Linked DNA regions of Homo sapiens: all the other regions are linked to region 1. Evidence: promoter capture Hi-C in 16 types of primary human blood cells and fetal thymus (Javierre and others, 2016). All regions are on one chromosome and are shown on one strand. Each heading gives the region's core, a stretch centred on a gene start or on the middle of the fragment in contact. The rest is flanking DNA. Distances are from core to core; before and after follow the strand shown.

The links. The method cuts DNA at HindIII sites, captures the fragments that hold promoters and counts their contacts. A CHiCAGO score of 5 or more calls a contact.
Region 2: the fragment with the promoter of LRP4 here is called in contact with the fragment with the promoter of C1QTNF4 in region 1 in 1 of 17 cell types (non-activated CD4 T cells); the score reaches 5.2 in non-activated CD4 T cells.
Region 3: a contact is called between a fragment that was not itself captured here and the fragment with the promoter of C1QTNF4 in region 1, in 2 of 17 cell types (naive B cells and total B cells). The highest score is 6.7, in naive B cells.

Annotation. Positions count from the first base shown.
Region 1 is chr11:47,592,267-47,597,054 of GRCh38, forward strand. C1QTNF4 (C1q and TNF related 4) reads right to left here and starts at 2,145. Exons shown (of 2, transcript NM_031909.3): 1 at 1,882-2,145. The HindIII fragment of the contact is 4,016 bases long and covers 1-3,458 here.
Region 2 is chr11:46,916,281-46,921,068 of GRCh38, forward strand. It overlaps LRP4 (LDL receptor related protein 4), which reads right to left and starts at 2,270. Exons shown (of 38, transcript NM_002334.4): 1 at 2,048-2,270. The coding sequence starts at 2,099. RefSeq lists enhancers at 460-1,331, 2,495-2,999, 3,694-4,195, 4,196-4,695 and silencers at 1,835-2,004, 2,015-2,194, 2,205-2,434. The HindIII fragment of the contact is 10,743 bases long and covers 1-4,788 here.
Region 3 is chr11:48,112,165-48,116,952 of GRCh38, forward strand. PTPRJ (protein tyrosine phosphatase receptor type J) reads left to right here. Exons shown (of 25, transcript NM_002843.4): 3 at 583-819. Among named protein-coding and RNA genes, the nearest start is that of MIR3161, 18 kb to the left of the region's middle. The HindIII fragment of the contact is 657 bases long and covers 2,310-2,966 here.

The DNA.
Region 1 (4,788 bases), core at 895-3,394:
AGATCTGGGTTCAGGTCCTGGCTCTACCACTCACACTGTGAAACCTTGGGCAGGTTCCCTAACTTCTCTGGGCATGGCTTCCTCCATGTAAATGGGGAAGAGACCTCACACACAGGCTTGCTGTGGGGGTGTGCTGAGATAGGTGTGAACATGGTTTGTCAACGGCAGTGCTGAGGTGTGCAGATGCTTCTGTCGGTTGCCCTGACAAAAGTGATCTGGTCCAGTTCTTGACGTAAGGGTTTAGGGACTCAGTCACTCCTACCCCTGAGAGCTTGGTGAAGGCACTGCTTAACTCAAAGGAGTCACTCTCTGATGTAGGGATTCCATCCTGCTTCCTAGTAGGGCACGTGCTTTGGGGCTTGAATACCCAAAAGCCCTGATGTGGAAACAAAACAGGAAAGAAATGAGCTGGAGACAGCCTGGGATGTGGGCTGCTTTAGAAAATGCCCTGTATGTGTAGCTCTGTGTCTCTTAGAGACAGCAGGGACCTGCTGAGAAGGGTTGTCAGGTGTAGATGTGCAGAACGTCCCAGCTAGAATCTAGCTCACACTCCACATGTTAGAGCAGCACCTGGCGTAAAGTATGCCACCTTCTCATTCTCATACTAAAGACCCCAAGTTGCTAGCCAACTGAATGCTGTCTCCTTCCAGAGGAGGTGCTTTTTGTAATTCTCACAAAGGTGTCCTATGGATTAGTTAGGTGTCCCTTGGTTAGGACAGGGAGGAGGGAAGGGGCCATCCACAGTGGTGAAGATGGCACCTCACAAGTGTCCAGTGCATTCCCTTTTACAAAGTTCTTTTAGACACATGGTCTTGGCAAACCTACAAGACAGGTGGGCCGTCTCCCATTTTATAGATGAGAAAGCTGAGGCCCAACAAGGGAAAGCATTTTGGCCCAAGGTCACCCATGGAGCACTGAGGTTTTTTGACTCAAATTCCGTATGCCTTCCTGTCACTCTTCCCTCCTAGACACAGGTATGTCCAGCCAATTTGTTCTGTGCCTCAGTTTACCTTTTTGCAAAACTAGGAGAGGAGATCAGAGGAATGAGTCTTGGGATCCAGGGTGAGGAAGACAGAAAGCAAAACCAAACAAAAGCAAGCAAACACATTCTCTAGTGTTTTGTCTTCTGGGAACACGGAAAACAGCTCAGCTTTTCCATACCGCTGCTTTCCTAGTGGGTCCTGCCCCAGAAGCAGCTGCCCAGCAACCTCCTGACCAAGGCTGGTGCACCCCACCAGTGCCAAGGGTCTTCCTGTGCACCCAGTACCCAGCCTCCGTTTCACCCACACTGCCCAATTCCCAGATCCCTGGATCCTCGTCCTTCCCTGAACCCCCTTCCCTGAGCAGGTCAGAGGTGTGGGAGGGTGTGTCAGGTGGGTGTCATAGCTCCAGGGAAGGAAATGGCTGTTCCTGGCTCTGTCCAGGTGGGGTTCAAAATAGTCATCTTCAAAGAGAAAAACTGGGACACAGAGCTGGAGAGACCCAGAGCCCCGGAGCCAAGGCGGGAGGTGCAGCGATGTCAGGCTGAGGGGATCGCAGAGTTCCCCCTTGCCCTGCCACTCACCAGTTAACCCTTCCCTCAAGCCCTGCCAGAGCCCCCTCCCCAACCTACCTTGAAAGCCCCTCATCCTTCCAAGAAGTCCCACTTTCACAGAAGCCAATTAATCCTTATTTTTAAAAAACAAAAACCAATCCCTCTCCCCCGAGACCTTCCCTCCATCCATCCATCCCTTTGGAATGAAAGCCCTTGTGCCTGTTTCACGAAAAGGCTCCCAGGTCCTCCTTTCAAGGAAAAAGGACCCAATTTCCCCGCGCCTCCCCAGCCCTCGCTTCCAGTAAAGGGGGAACCTCGGCTCCCTGCCTCCCCTCAGCTGCCCTCACCTGGCTGGGGGCGGCGGTCGAGTCGGGTTCGGTCTGAGCCCGCGATCTGGCTCCGGGCTGCGGGCTGCGGGCTGCAGGCTGCAGGCTGCGGGTGCCGGGCTGCGCGCTGACCGCCCGCGCTGCGGCAGGGGCGGCGGGGGCTCCGGCTGCTTTTCCCGGCTCTGAGGCGGCAGCGGACAGGGTGCTGGGGCCAGGGGCCGGGCGTGGGGAGGCGTGAGGGAAAGGGAAGGTCAGCTAGAGAGGGAGCCGAGCGAGAGCGAAGAGGCGGGGGAGAGACGGGAGGGGGAGAGGAGGGGAGTAGGGGAGAGGGAGGGGCGAGCTGCGGGGCCTAGGGGCTCCGCACGGAGTCTGCGCCGAGCACTGGACCCTTCCTCATCTGTGACCTCCTTAGAGCTTCGTCCTCTGGGTCTAGAGAGCAGGCATCATTAATCTGAGCAGTTGGGGAAACTGAGGCCAGAGGCAGCAGCTAACGCGGGGTGGCCCAGAGCGCTCTACAGTCCAGCTTCCTTCCTAGTGTGGGGAGAGAGGGCTAGAGCTGGACTCAGAGGCTGGACTAGCCTTTGGGCTGCAAGGACAGTGGAAGGTGAGATTTTGGCTGGGACAGATGTCCAAGCTAAGTGGCCTTGGGGGAGAGGTCTGAAGGAAGAGAAGGATAAATGGGTCAATGTTGCCAGTAAAGGAAGAGCTGAAAATAACCTAGTTTTTCCTCCTCACCTCCAAATTGGAAAATGCCCACGGTCGGTTAGGAAAGAGGGAGAAGGGAGTCTGCAGGCATCAGAGGGGCAGCCTGCGTTCCCCGGGGTGAGGGGCAGTAAGGAGGAGAGTCCTTGGGGCAGAATGGAATTTTCTGCTGGGAAGGTTGCTCCTGCAAGAAGGGACAGGATTGAGAGGGCAATAGGTGGGGAAGAAAGGCCTCTGGAGAGGGAAACTGATGCCCTGCCTCGCTGGGGCCAGGCTAGCAAGAGTCCAGCAGGGCACCCGGGCTGGGAACAGCGGTCTTCCCATGGTAATACTCACCAGAGGCACTAGTGCTGGCCTCTACTCTGGGCTTCGAGCCCGTGGGATGGGGGCTCAGACTCCCTTTCTCTAGGCTGCTGTTCTCTCCCCTGACGGCTGTAGAGGTGACGACACTGCCTGGCACTCAGTAGATGCTGACTGAGTGGATGACTTTTGAAGAGCTCTACTTTCAGCAGCCAAGAGCTGGTGCCCTCTGCCTGGCCCTGGTTGACTCCAGAGCCATGGGCTCTAATTCTGCCTCTGCTGCAGGTCTGCTCTGTGGTCCCTGAGAGGCCTGGACCCCTGCAGAACCCCCGTCCTCTGGAGCTTTCCTTTTGGAGCTCTCAAAGTTTACCCCACCCCAGTTAATCTATTTGTCTCTAGGAAGATGTTGGTAGAGGTGATTGGCTCTGCTTCAAGGGTGTTAGGTGAATGATGGAATGAATTAACGAATATGTGCCAGAATAGAAAGGAATGAATGGAGGTGTTTTGGGCTGGATAATGAGGGTATTTGGTGACAGAGGGTGAAGCACCTGTCTAGCCCTTGTCAGATCACAACTGTCTCTTTCACCAACTTGAAAAGCTTGGGCCACAGGACTGTGGGGAGGACAAGAAGCAGGGTAAGGGTGGGATGAGCCACACAGGGATGTCGAAGGAGAGCTGGGGGATGCCAAAAGCCAACCTATGGCAATCTATGGCCCTTCTTAGGGCCATGGGCCCCTTCTGGATGAGAAGAGTGGAGCTGCTCTCCTGAGGGTGATTCCAATGGTGGGAGGGGAGGGGAGGGGAGAAGGTATATTATAGGATAATATAATCTCAGTTGAGGTTTGGTTCAGGCTGGGATTTGACACTCCCTGGATCCACAAGAGTTCTCACCAGAGAAGTGAGGGTTGAGGTAGAGATGGGTGGCTGGGGCAGATGACATCAGGATTTGCATCAGGGGACTGGGATAGGGAGGAAGCCACTGGGAAAGGGATATAGAGAAAGATGATGCCATGAGCTGGTGGGTGTAAGGCAGATGGGTGGGCTCCAGAATGGGAGTTAAGAAGAGGTGGCAGCAGGATCCAGAGAAAAGCCCTAGGCTGGTTATAGTCCCTGCTCCCTCCTCTCTTGTTTTGCAGCCACAATTTTATTTATTTTTGAGAGAGGGTCTTGCTGTGTCACCTGGGCTGGAGTGCAATGGTATGATCTTGGCTCACTGCAGCTTTGACCTTGCGGGCTCAAGTGATTCTCCCACCTCAGCCTCCCAGGTAGCTGGGACTACAGGTGCAGGTCACCATGCCTGGCTAATTTTTTTTAAAATTTTTTGTAGAGACGAGGTCTCACTCTGTTGCCCAGGCTGGTCTTAAACAACAATTATTTTATTTATTTTTTAATTGAGACGGGTATGGCTGGGCATGGTGGCTTACGCCTATGATATTAGCACTTTGGGAGGCCAAGGTGGGAAGATCGCTTGAGCTCAGAAGTTTGAGACCACTCTGGGCAACAGAGTGAGACCCCATCTCTCTCTCTCTTTTTTTTTTTTTTTTCTGAGACAGACTCTCGCTCTGTTGCCCAGGCTGGAGTGCAATGCTGCGATCTTGGCTCACTGCAACCTCCGCCTCCCGGGTTCAAGCGATTCTCCTGCCTCAGCCTCCTGAGTACCTGGGATTACAGGAGCGCGCCACCATGTCCGACTAATATTTTGTATTTTTAGTAGAGACGGGGTTTCACCATGTTGGTCAGGCTGGTCTTGGAACTCCTGACCTCGTGATCCGCCCGCCTTGGCCTCTCAAAGTGCTGGGATTACAGGCGTGAGCCACCGCGCCCAGCTGTCCCCATCACTTAAAAAAAAAGTTAAAAAAATTAACATTAAAATATATATAAATTGAGACGGGTTCTTTTTTCTTTTCTTGAGATGGAGTTTTGCTC
Region 2 (4,788 bases), core at 1,020-3,519, 680 kb before region 1:
AAAACAAAAATTTGTAGGGTATGGTGGTGCATGCCTGTAGTCCCAGTTACTCAGGAGGCTGAGATGACAAGATCACTTGAGCTTGGGAGGTCGAGGCTGTAGTGAGCTATGATTGCCCCACTGCATTCCAGCCTGGGCAACAGAGTGAGACACCCTCTCCAAGAAAAAAAAGAGAAAGAAACCTAAAAGCGTTACCGCGAATCCTCCCATTCTTTTTCTGTGAAACATTAGACATACGCAATTCTCTCCCCCCATTCTCACCCCCATCCTCTATGCACATGTAATATTTGCAGCGTTGACAGCTCTGGAGCAGTAAAATCTTCTTGGCCAGTCTCAGCCCGGAACCTTCCAGCTCCCCCTTCCCTAGGGCAGAAGGCGACAATCTCCTCTCTGGCTTTGTTGGTATCCGTTTTAACCCTAATTTTTTTTTTTTTTCCCAGTGCCTTGCCATTTCCCTTGATCTTTTTCAAAACTTCCTCCAGGGGGCTGAGAGGAAAGTTCCATCCCCTTTCCTTGCAACCCGAAGGGGGAAACCCCCCAAAAAGCAAAGCTGTCCCTTTAAGGGGCCCATGTGGTGGGAAGAACAGCTACATTCCTACCCCAGTAGGGCCGCTGTCCCAACACGCCAAAGAGGCTACAAATAACCTTCCAGGAGAGAGCCGGGGAGGGGAGAGCGCAGAGCGGAGCGGAACGTGGGCCGGCCAAGCTACCGCTCTTCGGAGAGAAAGAGCTCAGTCCGCGCTAGAGAGGACGCGGAAAAAAGCCCCTGAAAACCCACAGGTAGTTTAAATAAGAGACATGAAAACTCTGTTTTGGATTTGGGAGGTAAACCAATCTTTAAAACGAGTGCCTAGACATCTCCACGCCCTGCCAGGCAAGTTCGGAAATCTGCACTGACTTTTTCCACACGAGCTGTCCTACGTGAAAGAAAGAACCGGTAAAAGACCAGGCAGGGTCTCCAGACCCCTCCATTCTGAGCCCCAGCTCCCTTCATCGGGGCTGCGAGGCAAATGGGGAGACTCGGAACTCCCGCCACGATGAATAGCGATGGGTGAATAGGGCTGGGGTTCAAAGATCAAAGTTCTTTGATCTCTGGGCACAAACTAGGGAAAGCTGCTCAATCACGGGGTGCACCCAGGGTCGTTAAGAGCCCGCGGAGAAGCAGATTCCATCGGAGCCCTAGTCCCACACAACAGGGGGTACGGGCACCAAGGAGTCCTGCTGCAGCCGTCCAGCTCCCCCGAGGGCTGGGACCCTGCCGCGAGGGCCCGGCGGCTGCCTTCTGGGGTTCAGGGTTACCGGCCCCCTGCCCCCCTACCCCAGCCAGGGCAGATCTGCGGGAGCCTTCCAGCAGTTTCTTCCCTATATTCCTCCTCAGCCCCCTTTCCAACCACCTCCCTTTAGGACGATCCAGGGCTGGAAGCTGACTGGCCGCAGCCAAGAGAGGGACCCCGAAACACCGCCGAGGGGAGATGCTGCCCGCAAACAGTGCCCCAGAGCCCCTTGGTGGGAGCAAGACCTGGAGTCCGGGAATCGTTCTCCGAGTAGAGGAATCCCGGTGCCCAAGTACCAGATTCTACCGGGGCCTCTCTCCGCAACCCGCCCGAGCCCCCAGCCCCAGGAAGGAGGGCTATTTACAATTTATGGGTTTAGCGACCCTCCTCACCCGCCTCCCTTTCTTCGCACGCATTCATTCGCACCAAGGACACAGAGCCCCCGACCTAACCTGAAAGGGAAGCAGCCCCCGCTCTTGAAAGAGCAGCGAGGGAGGGCGAGCGAACGAACGCCCCGGACCTTACCCGCGCCCCGGCCCAGACCCGCGCCCCGGCCCAGACCCGAACCCGCGGAAGCGCCTCCGCTGATGCCCCCGCTCGGACTGCTGGAGCCGGGGCCGCTCCGGGTCCTCTCCCCTGCACGCAGCCCCAGGGCCACGGCTAGGAGCGAGGGCGAGGGGTCTCAGGCCCCGGCCCGCGCCGTCCAGGTCCCGGGAGGCGAGTCCTGCAGCGGCCGGACCCAGGGACAAACTTTCCCGGCGGGCGCCGCTTACCGTGTGCGCAGAGCAGGGCGCCAAGCAGCAGCGCGCCCCACTGCCGCCTCATGGTGCCGCCCGCGCCGCTCGCCCGGGGTCCCGCCGGCTCCCGCCGGACGGCGCGGCGGAGAAGCCCGCGGAGGGTCCCCGAGGGGGAAGCGTCCCGGGTGCACGGCGGCCTGCGCGCCCCGCAAGTCGCCCTCGGGCCGCCGCCGCCTCCAGTGCTGCCAGAGCCGACGCTGCCCCGCCAGGGGACCGGGAGGGGGTGTCCCGGGCCCGACCGCCCCGCCCCCCGCGCCGCAGCCCCGGCCACCGCCACCGCGCCTGGGCCCGCCCCCAGCGCCGGCCCGGCCCCTTCCCGCCCTCGGCCCCGGCTCCCTGGTCCCCCGACCCCACCCGCCGGCGCCTCCTGCGCGGGGCCCCGCTCCTCCTCAGGCCGCCCCCACATTCCTGGCCCGAGAGAGAGCCCCCTCCCTGTCGCTATTACTACTGCTTAAATTTCCCTAACTTAAAAAAAAAAAATTATCCTAGCAGCAAGTCTCGCCCCCGCTCACTCCAGCTCTATGCTTCAGACGAGCACCTGAGCTGACCCAAGTCGCCTGGACGTGACCCTGCCCCCGCCTACCGGCCCCAAGTCCAGACTTTTTTGATGTCTGCGAATACGCAAGGCTTGTGGATGCATAATCCTCTTGGGTCTTTATTGACATCAAACAAGGGACATCAGGGGGCCTGGAGTGCTGTATCTTAACTGGCGTTCTCACTGTCAAAATTCCTTTTCGGAGATTTTCTTCTCCCTGGCCTCCCCCGGTCTAGGCAGCGTTGTTCTAGGGCTAAATAATTCACCGACCCCCCCGCCCCTTTTCATTCACTCATTTCCTGAGATGGTTGTCTGGGTCCTGTTGCTCCAGCTCAGAGGCCCAGATTCGGCCCATACAGACTTAGTTCCTCCTTGCTGTCTTTGTAAATCACTGTTGTTAGCCTCTTCACCTTCTTTGACTTTCTGATCCTGACAAGGAAGGGAGGGGGTCAGGAAAGGAGTCCTCATGGGCAGCTGCACTCCCACAAAGCCCTCAGCCTCCTTCCAGCCCCAGTCTGTAGGTCCTTCCCTCAGATTTAACTTTTGATTTACTGCATAAAATCATAAACTTGTCTCTAGTCTTCCTTCCTTTTGTGGTCTACTCTCCCTAATGCATATTAATAATACGGATTAATTTCACCACCTTCCATTTTTCCAGGTTGAATCTTGTTTTGTTCCTTTTGCCCAAATGCCCAACTTTCTGATGGCCCAGTATATCGCTTTTTTCCCTCCCAGCTGATATGCCAGCATTTCTTGGGCTTGGATCATCTATGGATTTCATTAACTCACTTTCCTCACCAGTAAATAGAGTCAGGAAGACCCAAATGCCCCCTGTTAGCTGAGGGGAAAGTAATTTGGCATAGTGCAAAGTGGTTATTAGATTTCTCTAAATGGATACATTGACATTTCATCCTTGCTTGTTTTTTTCAGTACTTTCACTTCAAATTACCATCTTTTACCAAAGCTAACATGAACCATACTTTGCGACAGCAACAACAACAACATAAAAGATGTAAGGTGTTAACTCCTTGTTAGGCAGTAGTTTTCTATATCGTTTTGCCTGAAATTTTTATCCAGATGCAATGTGGTTGAACTAGCATCACCATGGTAACTATTACTGAAGCATTTTCTGGGTGTGTAGTTCTTCTTGCTGACTGAAGGCGGCAGTAGCGTCAGGTCAGGCTTACATGATCTTGGGGCTAGGCAAGACTGTCAACATTTCTGGCCTCGATCAGTTACCACAGCCTAAAATCCAAGGAGGAAAAAACGTCAAAAGTAGAGGCTGATTCCCCAGCATCCTCCTTCCCACCTCTCATTTCCTAATGCAGGTTTGGTTGGTCTCAGGGTTTCATATATGTTGCTTATGAAGACTTGCTCTTTTTTTTTCTTTTTTGAGACGGAGTTTCACTCTTGTTGCCCAGGCTGGAGTGCAATGGCGCCATCTCAGCTCACTGCAACCTCGGCCTCCCGGGTTCAAGCGATTCTCCTGCCTCAGCCTCCCGAGTAGGGTAGCTGGGATTACAGGCATGCGCCATCACGTCCGGCTAATGTATTTTTCGTAGACGGAGTTTCTCCATGTTGGTCAGGCTGGTCTCGAACTCCTGACCTCAGGTGATCCACCCGCCTCGGCCTCCCAAAGTGCTGGGATTATAGGCGTGAGCCACTCTGCCTGGCCGAAGACTTGCTTTTAAATCTGTTGGGAATGACCTTGGGATTCTGGAGACCATATTTTTTTCCAGCTGAAAACTAGGGACTTGTGGTAGAGCCAGTACAGTTGTCCCAAAGAAATCCAGGATAGGCAGTCCCCATACTTTCAATGTCAGGGGATTAAGAAGTTATAAACAGTTTCCACTCTGTATGCAAAGGACAGGTTCCTTTCCAGAGGCATGATTTGTGTTGTTTTTCTGGAATTGGAGAAGAAACGAGAGGCGGGCTGTCCCTGTCTGACTCAGCTTGAGAGACTGTTTCCTATGTGCATCCCAAGTCCTTCTCCACGGTTCAGCACAGTTCTGGTGCACAGAGTCATCCCTGGCTGCTGTGAGTCACTGGGAATATCAATGGGTAAGAAACTAGCTTCGTGCATAGTCCCTGTCTGGGTCACCCCCTAGGGTGAGTTAAGTCTTGGCTGTCAGAGACTGCTCTTGTGCCAGGAGTACTAAGCCATATTTATTTTTACCAGGCC
Region 3 (4,788 bases), core at 1,388-3,887, 520 kb after region 1:
CTTTAAGGACACTTGCTAGAAGTCAGACAGAACGTCTGGTCACACTCTGTTTGACAGAAGTTAGTCACATGCAACATCTAGCTGCATGGGAGGCTGGGAAATGTGGTCTTTGTTCCCAACAGCTATGCATATACAGGGCCAAAAATCTCCAGGAGTATGATGAAGGGAAAATGGGGGAATGGAGTTTGGGGGTCAAGAGTGGTCTCTGCTGCACCTCCCTGAACAGAGACTCTAGGAGACTAGTAATGAATTCAAGATAAAGCAGCCAGTGTGGCCAAGGTTCTCCTTCAGTGCCTGAGCTCTTGGCCATAGGAGCTCACGCCTCCTCTCCTTTCCTGTGAATGACTGTGTGCAGTGTAAGCATGGAGCTTCTGCACTCTCGTGGCCAGGTACTCTCCATGTGGCCAGAAATGGCAGTTTCTGAGGGGCTCATGTTGTAGGTGATGATACAAAGAAGAGAAAGAGAGGGATCAGTTTTTCCAAGTGTGCATTTCATTTCAGTGTAAATATTTTGTGAGGTGGGGCATCCCTGTCTCCTGGAGAAATATATTTTTAATCTAATTGTTTACTTTCTTTGCATAGCCCCTAGTCCAATTCCTGACCCTTCAGTAGCAACTGTTGCCACAGGGGAAAATGGCATAACGCAGATCAGCAGTACAGCAGAATCCTTTCATAAACAGAATGGAACTGGAACACCTCAGGTGGAAACAAACACCAGTGAGGATGGTGAAAGCTCTGGAGCCAACGATAGTTTAAGAACACCTGAACAAGGATCTAATGGGACTGATGGGGCATCTCAAAAAACTCCCAGTAGCACTGGTAAGCATAGGCTTTTCTGCCAGTCATGTTTCTTAAAGGAAATCGGTAGAATTTATAAATGTCATGTTTTCCAAATACTGTTCTTCTTTTAATTACCTAAGAAAATCTTTTTAAAAATTTTTATAAAGATAGTAATGCATATTCATTATATAAAACATAGACAAGAAAAGAATAACAAGTAAATCATTAACTGGAGATAACCATTGATCACTTGATATACGAGTTTTATAATTTTAAGATATATGCATGCCTGTGTGCATATGTATATACATATATATGTTTTATTTTGTTTTACAAATATCAAGGTCATCCTTTACATGTAGCTTCTCACCAATATATTACAAATATTCTTCCCTGTTAGTATATACATTTCTACAGGACAGTTTTAATACCTGCCTGGCATTCTATTTTCTAAATCAGGGTTGGCAGATAATAATGGTCCTTGGGCCAAATATAGATCACTTTCTGTTTTTGTAAGTAAAGTTTTATTGAGTCTGCCTATGGCTGCTTTCATGCTAGAATTGAGTAGTGGCAATGGAGAATTTGTGGCTTGTAAAGCCTGAAATATTTATTCTGTGGCCCTTACAGAAAAACATTGCTGATACCTGGGTTAGATAATTGATTCTAAAACTGTGGTTCAGAGATCTCTAGGGGTCTCCTAGATTCTTTCAAGGTATTTCTGGGTATTGTTTTCATAATACTACTAACATGTTATTTGGCTTCTTTACTCTCATTTTATCATGAGTGTACAGTGGAGTCTTGCAGATTCTATATGATTTGGGATGACACTGTCACTCTTACAGCTAATGGAATGTATGCTTTCATATTGTTTAAAAAACTTTATCTTTTTTATTTCTAATACAGTATGGTAAATATTAATCAATATAACCCATATAAACAAAAATTCTCCGGGAGCCTTAATAATTTTTAAGAAGTTAAAAGGGCCCTGAGACCACAGTGTTTAAGAATTACTTGTCTAAAAGCATTGTAAATTATTTAACTGCTCCCCTGTTGTTGGGAAGGTAGATTATTTATTTATAATTTTTCATAAAAAACATTGTGATACAATAGTTTTGTTAGTTCTAGAAGTATTGATAAAATCACATACACAGTTAAAATAAGTCATTGAATTATTTCTAGGGTAATATGAGAAACTTTTAGAAATTCCTAAGGGGCTGGGCACAGTGGCTCATGCCTGTAATCACAGCACTTTGGGAGGCTAAGGTGGGTGATCACCTGAGGTCAGGAGTTCAAGGCCAGCCTGGCCAACATGGCAAAACCCCGTCTCTGTTAAAAATACAAAAATTAGCCGGGTGTGGTCATGCATGCCTGTAATCCCAGCTACTCGGGAGGCTGAGGCAGGAGAATTGCTTGAACCCAGGAGGCAGAGGTTGCAGTGAGTGGAGATGGTGCCACTGCACTCCCGACAGAGTGAGACTCTGTCTCAAAAAAAAAAAAAAAAAAAAAAAAAAAAAGAAAAATTCCTAGCAAGCTTATGTTAATTATTGTTACAAAAATTTGGGCTTAGAGGTTGGGACCATACCAGATGGTCTTCCCAGAAATCACTGGACAGGCTTACTGTTGAAGGGCATTTCCAGAGGAAGCCAATCTACAATGATTGGAATAAGAACCTACTTCTTCAAATATACAGACATCAACACAGAGTCACAAGGATCAAGAATAATCAGGGAAACGTGATATTACCAGAGAAACAAAATAAAGTGCAAGTGGTTGACCATAAAGAGATGGGAGATGTATGAACTGTCTGACAGAGAATTCAAAATACATGTTTTAAGGAAGCCTAGCAAACTTTAAGAAAATACAGATAAAGAATTCAAAGAAATGAGGAAAACAATAAGTGACTAGATTGAGATATTTAACAGAGAAGCAAACAGAAATTCTGAAGCTAAAAAATACTTTGAACAAAATGAAAAATGTAATAGAGAGCACCAAGAGTAGAACTGATCAAGTAGAAGAAATAATCCTTGAACTTGAAGACAGATTATTTGAAAATATACAGAGGAGGAAAAATAAAAAAGTGGATAAAAAGGAATGAAGAATGCCTATAGGATTTATGCAACAGCATCAAAAGACGTGGTATTTGAATTGGAGTTCATCTAGGGGAAGAGAAAGATAAAGAGGTAGAAAGCTTATTTAAAGAAATAGTAGCAGAAAACTCTCCAAACCTGGAGAAAGATATAAATATCCAGGTACAGGAAGGACAAATGACTCCAATCAGAGTCAATTCAAACAAGACTACTCCAGAACATAATCACACTGTCAAACATCACAGACAATGGGGATTTGGAAAGCAAAAAGAGAAAAGAAGCAAATAACATGTAAGGGAGCTCCACTTCAGCTAGCAGCAGACTTCTCAGCAGAAACTTACAGGCCAGGAGAGAGTGGGATGATATATTCACCATGCTGAGGGAAAACAACCTGCCAACCAAGATTGCTATACCCAGCAGAACTGGCCATCAAAAATGAAGGCAAGATAAAAGACTTTACCAGAGAAACAAAAGCTGAGGGAGTTCATCACCACTAGACATGTCTTATAAGAAATGCTAAAGAGAGTTTTTAAGCTGAAAGAAAAGGACACTAGTGATTAATTGAAAACATATGAAAGGATAAGACTAGTAAAATAAATACACAGTCAAATTCAGAATACATGAATACTGTAATGGTCATACATATCTTTAATATGAAAGTTAAAAGATAATACTTAAAAAATAATAACTACAATAACTTGCAGGGGGGATATGCAATATAAAAAGATGTAAATGGTGACATAAACAATTCATAATATGAGTGGGGAATGGACTAGAAGTGTAGAGGTCAATTTGTGTGTGTGATCAAAGTTGTCATCAGCATAAAATAACCTGTTATAACTATAAGATTCTTTTTATAAGCCTCATGGTAACCACAAAGAAGAACCTTTAGTAGATACACAAAAAATAAAAAGCAAGGAATCAAAACATACTACTAGAGAATATCACTTAACCTCAAAGGAAGATAGTAAGAGAGGACGGAAGGAACAAAGAGTCTATAAAACAACCAAATGGCAGTAGTAAGTTCTTACCTATCAATAATAACCTTGAAAGTAAAGGGTTTAAATTCTCCAATCAAAAGACATAGAGTGCGTGAATGGGTTAAAAAAAAAAACCGATCTCAATAGTATGCTGTCTACAAGAGACTCACCTCACCTGCAAGGACATGCCTAGACTGAAAGTGAAGGGATGGAAAAAGATACTCCATGCTAATGGAAATCTAAAGAGTGGCAGGAGTAGCTATACTTATGTCAGATAAAATAGACTTTAAGTTCAAAACTTTTAATGGAGACAACAAACATCATTTTATAATGATAAAGGGATCAATTCATCAAGAGGTCTTAACAATTATAAATATATATGCACCCAGCATTGGAATGCCTAAATATATAAAGCAAATATTAATGGATCTGAATGGACAGATTGACTGCAATGCATTCATAGTAGAGGACTTCCACCACCTTACTTCCAGCAATGGACAATGATCCAGACAGGAAATCAATAAGGAAGCATCAGACTTAAACTACAGTTTAGACCAAATGGATGTATCAGACATATACAGAACATTCCATCCAACAGCTGTAGAATACACACTTTTCAACTGCACCTGGAACATTCTCCAGGTAGATCATATGTTAGACCACAAAACAAGTGTTAACAGATTTAAGAAGTGTGAAATCATATCAAGTATCTTTTCTGATGATGGCATCAAACTAGAAATAAATAACAGGAGGAACTTAAGAAAATTCACAGATATATGGAAATTAAACAACATGCTCCTGAATAACTAATGGGTTGATGATGAAATTAAAAGGGAAACTAAAAAATATCTTGAGACAAACATCACTTCTTAAGCAATTTTGTTAACATATTTCTTTTTCTTCTTTAAAATGGTGCCATAACCTCCTTCATGAAATTGCTG